Regions from separate parts of the Homo sapiens genome. Here region 2 is linked to region 1. The links are contacts of gene promoters, found by promoter capture Hi-C in blood cells and fetal thymus (Javierre and others, 2016). All regions are on one chromosome and are shown on one strand. Each heading gives the region's core, a stretch centred on a gene start or on the middle of the fragment in contact. The rest is flanking DNA. Distances are from core to core; before and after follow the strand shown. Region 1 holds the start of F2R (coagulation factor II thrombin receptor). Region 2 overlaps IQGAP2 (IQ motif containing GTPase activating protein 2).

Region 1 (3,652 bases), core at 63-2,562:
CATTCTTTTAGCGATAACAAGAAAACCCGCTAGAACTTCTTTCAGCGTAAAAAAAATGGCTCAAAGCTTATAAAATACTATTGTTATTAGGAAATTCAAAAACACTTTTCTCACTTTCTAATTAGCGCCTTTACAGGCTAAAAACAACTCATCTGTGCTGCTCTTGGGGAAAGGGATACAGAAAATATTTGACCAAATAAATTAATCAAATTTATTTATTTGGTCAAGTGGCCAGATACTTAAAAATAGACTACTAGTGGGGAAAATATTCTAGGGGAGCAACCTTCTTGCAGTGGATCAGAAATCTCGTTAAGAAATACTGGGATCCCACAGTGTTCGAGGGAGCCCGGTCCTGGGGAGGGATCTCTCTCTTCAACTCACTTAGAAGGAATGGGTTCTAGGTAACAACAAAATCCTCTCCATGTCCCCTCCCCCGCCACCACGCGGAGCCTCTGCTATTGTCACCATATATCTCGCACCCTGCGCACCTCCTGGACACAAGGCCGGGCCGGGGGCTGCTGGTACTGATTCTCTGCTAAACATGCCAAGGGACTGCCTGGGCTTTTCTCTACATCACTTTTCTCGCCTGTAAAATGTGCAAGAAAAAAACTTCCAACAAAGCAAAACTTCAGCGGCAGCGGTTCGCCACTTTATATTTTAAAGATCGAAACGTTTATTGGTGGAGCAACGTGAGAGCTTTTCTTTTTGGGGGTGGTCCTGGGAGAAACACAATGACAAGTGCAACGCAGGACTGCAGGCTCCCCCAGGGGGCTTCCGCTCCATCCTCCTCCATATCCAACACCCCGTGGCAGGCGGGCTGCACCCTCCAAGATCGAGTCCAAAGGGGCATCGGCTGGGCCCGCGAAGGGGGTGGCACGCCCCACCTAAACGTGACTGGAAAAAACTCCAGATCTCAGCCCAAATGCCAGTTTGGCTTTCGGAGGAAACTGAGGCAGGGGTGAGGAGAAGGCGCAACAGTGACCCCCGCAGTCTCCCCTCGGCGTCCCTCCGCCCGCGCACCCCATTCCCGTGCATCTCTCACCTGGCCTGCGGGCCCGGGTGCGGGCAGACAACAGCGGGCCGCACAGACTGAAGCAGGCGGCCACCAGCAGCAGCCGCCGCGGCCCCATTGTCCCGGGCTCTGCGCGGCGCTGCTCCGGGAGGCTGCCCCGCCTCGGGCTGCTCCGCTTCACCCTCTCTCCTGACTTCTGCGGGTCGGGGAGCCGGTCTTCGCGGCAGGCAGAGCGCAGGGTGCCCACGGGTAAGATCAGGGTCCAAGCGACCCTCGGCGAGCGCTGTGTCTGGGGCGGTTAGCGGGGCGGGGCGGGACTGGGGCGCGCGGTCGCGCGGGCGCGAGCGAGGAAGGGCGCCCTCCGGCGTGCAGTGAGAGTCTCTGCGCTGGAGCCGCTCGGCGCCCCCTCCCCGCGGTCCCTCAGCCGCCGCTCGCAAGCCCCTCTGGCTCTGTGCGCCCCGCCCCGCCCCGCCCTGCCCTACTGGGGGGCCCTGGCCGCCGGCCACTGCCGGGCCTAGAAGTCCAAATGAGAAGTTTTTTCCTCTGGGCACCGTTGATTCGCGAAGCTGTCAGTGACTCACACTGGCGGGGTCCTTGGAATGGGGCCGCACGGCTCGCAGGCTGCTTCCCGCGGCCGTCTCGACCCTCCTGGGATGTGGAGACGTCGACAGTGGACGCCCCGGCCAGGATGCGTCCACGCCCTGCAGCCCCGCAGCCCTGGCGTGGCCTCCCGTCCTCCCTCCCTCCGTGTGGGACACCGGCAAAGTTCAGTTTTCGCTAAAAGTCTAAAAGGGACTTCTGCTTTTGTAACGTGGGGATCACGGATTTAAAAGTTTATGATGTAGTGACAGGGTTGCCCCTAAATGAGAAAGGGCCCTTGAGTCTGGACAGAATTCTTGAACTTTTATACGTCTCTCTTTATTTCGCGAAGTTAGGCGTTTCATACGCCGGGCACTCGTTTCCCCCACACGCAGACTGCGAGTGGAATAGGAAGAGCGGCTTCTCCCGCTTCCCCCCCGCGCGGCCTCGCGGAGCTCTTCCCTTTCCCGCGCCGCCCGCCGGGGTCACCTGCGCATCTGGGAGGAGGGCGCGCGTCTGCCGGTGAGGCCGGCGTTCTAGGGCCGCGGGCGCCCAGGAGAGAAATGGCCTGGTAACTTTCCAAGTGTCCTTCACACGTTCTTGAACGATATTACAGTTTGTTTTGTTTTTGAGGCAGGGTCTTGCCCTGTCGCCCAGGCTGGAGTGCAGTGGCGCCAACACGGCTCACTGCAGCCTCGATCTCCCTGGCTCAGGCCACCCTTTCGCCCCAGCCTCCGGATTACCTGGGACCACAGAAAGGCGCGCGCCACCATGTCCGGCTAATTTCACTGCTGGCCTCAAGCGATCCTCCTGCCTCAGCCTCCTAAAGTGCGGGGATTACAGGCGTGAATCACCGCGCCAGGCCTGATATTAAAGGAGTTTGGCTAAATTCAAGGCACAGGGCGGGGACACTCGCTTGGCAGTCTGCTAAGGGCCCCCAGGGGCGTCGCGGCTGGGGGTGGGCAGGAGGAGCCTGCAGCTTAAGTTGCTTTGCCACTGGCTCTGGTGCGTGCGCCTTTCAGACTCCAACAGGAAATGGGTCCCCAAATAGCTGTTTCTAGGAAAGCTCAGCCGCAGCCCCTTCTCCTCTTAACCCAGCGCACTGATGTGCGGGCATATTCGGAGTTCTGTGGTTGATAAGCTGCAGCTGAGAGCCGGTGGTCAGTTTTCTAAGCCTTTTTTAAAAGTGAATTTCGCACGAAGAGTATCATTCCCCCACTAGAGCCCGGACACTTACATCCGTGGAGAAAGTACGATCAGAGGCGATTTCGTTCTTCCCTGTATTCTCCCATCATCCTCAAAGGACAGTACCTTGTTGTACACAGAAGTTGATCACTAAATTGCGGAAGTACCCAGTTAAATAAAGCTTTTTAAAATCTATCCCCGTTCAGTTATCCTCTGGAAACATACCCAAGAGTAAATGTGAACAGTTAAAATTACATAGTTCTTCATTCACTATTAAACTATTTTTCATTATTCCTAAGACGTCATTGATTTTACAATTTATCATTTTAACCCATTACCACAAGCCAGAAAAAAATGTGACATACCAATGATTGTAAGAAACACTCCAATTTCAGGGTTATGAAGAAAAGGCATTTTAGAATCAATGAAACACAGTGGAAAATATAAACACATATGACAAAATTTCTGATAGTTGAAGGATATGAAATGAAAAATAAATTACCTTCTGCCTCCCCTCCCCTAGTTGCCATCTGACCACTAAGTTTCCCCTCCTTCCTTCCTTCCTTCCTTCCTTCCTTCCTTCCTTCCTTCCTCCCTCCCTCTCTTCCTTCCTTCCTTCCTCTCTTCCTTCCTTCCTCTCTCTCTCTCTCTGTCTTTCTTATTTTCTTTCTTTCTTTTTTTTCCTGAGGCGGAGTTTCACTCTTGTTGCCCAGGCTGGAGTGCAATGGCGCGGACTCGGCTCACAGCAACCTCCGTCTCCTGGGTTCAAGCGATTCTCCTGCCTCAGCCTCCCGAGTACTTGGGATTACAGGCGCCTACCACCGCGCCTGGCTAATTTTTTGTATTTTTAGTAGAGACTGGGTTTCACCATATTGG
Region 2 (3,612 bases), core at 984-3,483, 140 kb after region 1:
TCCCAAGCATTTAAATTCAAATGAGGCTGCTTATTACCTGAAGTATATAGGAAATCAAGTCTTAATCTAAAAAACAAAAAAGCCCATCGAATAGAAAAAGTGCCAATCTCATGTAGCTCTTCAACAGTTAATTTATTAAGCACCGTTTGGTACCTAACAGCCAAGTCAAAGGGCTGAGAGCATTCCAAAGGAAGTCATGGAATTAATGTCACCTTTGCTTCTCATGTCTAAGAGAGCACTTTTTGTGAGGTAGCAAGCCTCCTACCACACCAAAAGCTACAGCACACCTGTGCAGCTGAGTGAGGCCAGCAACGGAGGGGTTGCCCAGAGGTAGCTACCGACTCATTGACCCATGTGCTCCTACTTGTACAAATAATATCACTTAAAGTCCAGGAAGCAATAAAGAAAGTTTTAAAAAATACCATTTAGTGTATATCATGAAAGTAGTATATAGTAGTAGTAGTAGTAGTAGTTGTTATCTACTGAACCAAATTTTTCCATCTTAGTCACATACATTACTGCCAATATCACATGGCATTAGTTTTTTCTACCACTTTCAAGATAAAACTAGTGGTATTAGTTTTTTCTATACTTTCAGGATATACACTAAAAGGTACTATCGTAATGAAATGCAAACTTAAAAGGCAGGAGCTAAATTTATTTCAGCTTTCTTGGATCACATTATGTGTAGCTCATTTTGTACTATAACATGTGGAATGAATGTTTGTATATCAAAGCCTCATGGTAGAGCAGAAAGACCACAGGACTAGAATCCAGAAGCGCTGAATCCTGGTCCCAAAACTGGTAAAACCTCAGTGTGTGACTAAGAGCAAGTCACGTAACCCAAGCTTTCAGTTCCCTTATCTGTGAAATGAATGACTTAGACTACAATAACTTCCCAAGGCCCTTCCCCTTCTCAAGTTCCATGATTCTTCATTTAAAACATGTTAAATATAATAGCTGAGAGGCCTGTGCTGAAGTTCAAGTCTGATACCAGTGTTCTTTTAATTTTCTTAGAAGTAGGGAAATAATTGACTTCTTTTGAAGCCATTGGCTGGCTGAATTCATAATAGCACAGGTTCAGTTCTCACATATCCTGGTTTTTACTAACTGTGTGACCTTCGGCAGCCTCTCTGTGCCTCAACTGCCTTGGTGATAAAATGGGAGTAATAATAGTGACCACTGCACAGATATGTTATGAAGATAAAATGAGATTATACCAGTACAGTATTTTGTGCAGTGCCAGGCACATAGTTAAAAGCTCCATTTGTGTTAACCTTTGTTCTTACTATTCTTTGTTAAATAAATGTGTCCTTTGTATACAAACACTTATTGATAACCTATCAAAGTGGTTTTCTTACTTTTTCCAATGCCAAGAATCTCTATTTCACCACAGACTCCATGTTTGAAATAGTTTTATTTACTGAACCAAATTTTTCCATCTTAGTCACATATATCACTGCCAATATCATATCAAAATCCAGGGTTCTATACCTAATTTTCAGCCCCAAACCAAAGGAATCCTGAGGTAGCCTTATCATAGAGAAATTAGTTCAATTAAACCTCCTGAAGAGTTAAATATACAAACTCCAGAGACTTTAACTTGGAATCAATAGCACGTAAGCTGTATGAAGTAACAAGATGTGGTTCATAGTCTCTTAAGAGCTCAGAATTTAGGAAGACAGAAAGGCATAACCACCATACTAATTTAGGACAGAAAGAGGAGGAAAGGGAAAGGAATGGTTCAGAGCACAGAGAGAATTCTGAGCAAGGAAGGACTTGAAAGAAATAAGCAGGTGCAACTGCCTCCCTCACCTTACTTCCAAATACTGCCATCTCCAGATATCCCTTCTGAGAACCTAGGATTAGAGCCTGTCCTTTGAGCTAAGAAACTGTCTTTGGAAATCTTATTTATAAATGCAAATATGTTCACTGTTAGAGATATAATCAATCTGATATAAGGGTTCAATCAGTTTCTTAGGGAAGGAAAAGGTTCTAAGGGAACAGAGTGTTAAGACAAGGAAAGTTATGCATTAATGCCTGAGGAGCAGGTTCAAAGGCCACCTGGTAAGCAAGACAGCCACCTGGCTGTGTGGGAGCTGGCTAGACAAACTCTACTCCACAAAGCTCCCAGAGTACCTGGACGGCTGGTGAACCAGAAGTGGGTCTGCCAGAGCCATGGCATCACCATTGCACCTGAAAACATGGCTGCTGCGACACAGCTACAGTATCAGCAGCGGGAAGAGTAATCCTATCACAGAGGAGAGGCAGACATAGCTTCCGTTTGTGGCTGCCCATGTAGAAGAATCTCAATGGTCAAATGAACTAGACAGCAAGAAAAGCAGAATCCAGTAAGCTAATAAGGTTAAACTTGAAAAATTAATATAAACACATGACTTTTAAGAGGAATCCCTAGAGAGTGGTGGTTCCACATCTCAAAGCAGAAATAATCAGGATAGGACTGGAACATCCTGTTGTGACCACGAGCAAGGATATTTCAAAGAATGTCAGGGACGGTGCTAGAAGGACAAGGAAGTGGGCCAGAAAGAGCTCAGACTGACCAAGCTGAAACAATCTGGTTCATCAAAAAGAAAGAGATATTAATCTTGGTTAAGTCTGAGAAAGGCCACAGGTTCAAAACAATAATCAAGAGAATAATATACAGTGTCCAAAAAGGAAGTTGTAATAAAAAAAAGAGATAAATAGCGAATGTGTATTTATATTGACTTTAACAAGTTGGGGAGCATTATTAAAACACAAGTACTTTGTTTCTTCTATATCTGTTTTTTGTTTGTTTGTTTTGTTTTGTTTTGTTTTGTTCTTTGAGACGGAGTCTCGCTCTGTTGCCCAGGCTGGAGTGCAGTGGCGCGATCTTGGCTTATTGTGATCTCCGCCTCCTGGGTCTATTCTCCTGCCTCAGCCTCCCGAGTAGCTGGGACTACAGGCGTGTGCCACCATGCTTTTTTTTTTTTCTTTTAATTGAGATGGAGTCTCCCTCTGTTGCCCAGGCTAGAGTGCAGTGGCACAGTCTCAGCTCACTGCAACCTCCGCCTCCCAGGTTCAAGCGATTCTCCTGCCTCAGCCTCCCGAGTAGCTGTGATTATAGGCACCTGCCACCACACCTGGCTAATTTTTGTATTTTTGGTAGAGATGAGGTTTCACCATCATGGCCAGGCTGATCTTAAACTCCTGACCTCACATGATCTGCCTGCCTCAGCCTCCCAAAGTGCTGGGATTACAGGCATGAGCCACAACACCTGGCCTATATTTGTTTATATATAGATATTTTTATACTATTTATACTACATGAAAGAATAAAGACCAAGAACTTTGAGTAAACTAAATAGTCCCAGAAAACAAAGGAAGTGCCCCAAGATAAGGAAGAACCAAGGAGCATAGGTGGTGACAGAAACACCGGGTAGAAAGAGGGTCCAGCACTGGTGGTCACATCCACTAACTAAGTGGAGGCAGGACTAGAAACATGATCTGAGATGATAAATCAGCCCAAAAGCCTAAGGATCACTGGGTACAGTCAATCCCTTGTCTCCCAGGGGATGAAAACCTCTAGAAAGCCCAACTAATTAAAAAAAAAATATTTAAAAGGCATACATA

What was found. The method cuts DNA at HindIII sites, captures the fragments that hold promoters and counts their contacts. A CHiCAGO score of 5 or more calls a contact.
Region 2: a contact is called between a fragment that was not itself captured here and the fragment with the promoter of F2R in region 1, in 1 of 17 cell types (megakaryocytes). The highest score is 6.2, in megakaryocytes.

Annotation. Positions count from the first base shown.
Region 1 is chr5:76,713,786-76,717,437 of GRCh38, reverse strand. It overlaps F2R (coagulation factor II thrombin receptor), which reads right to left and starts at 1,312. Exons shown (of 2, transcript NM_001992.5): 1 at 1,043-1,312. The coding sequence starts at 1,130. RefSeq lists a silencer at 1,257-1,506. The HindIII fragment of the contact is 2,891 bases long and covers 69-2,959 here.
Region 2 is chr5:76,579,645-76,583,256 of GRCh38, reverse strand. The region is part of intron 5 of IQGAP2 (IQ motif containing GTPase activating protein 2); the gene reads right to left. Among named protein-coding and RNA genes, the nearest start is that of F2RL2, 42 kb to the left of the region's middle. RefSeq lists an enhancer at 941-1,030. The HindIII fragment of the contact is 2,766 bases long and covers 851-3,612 here.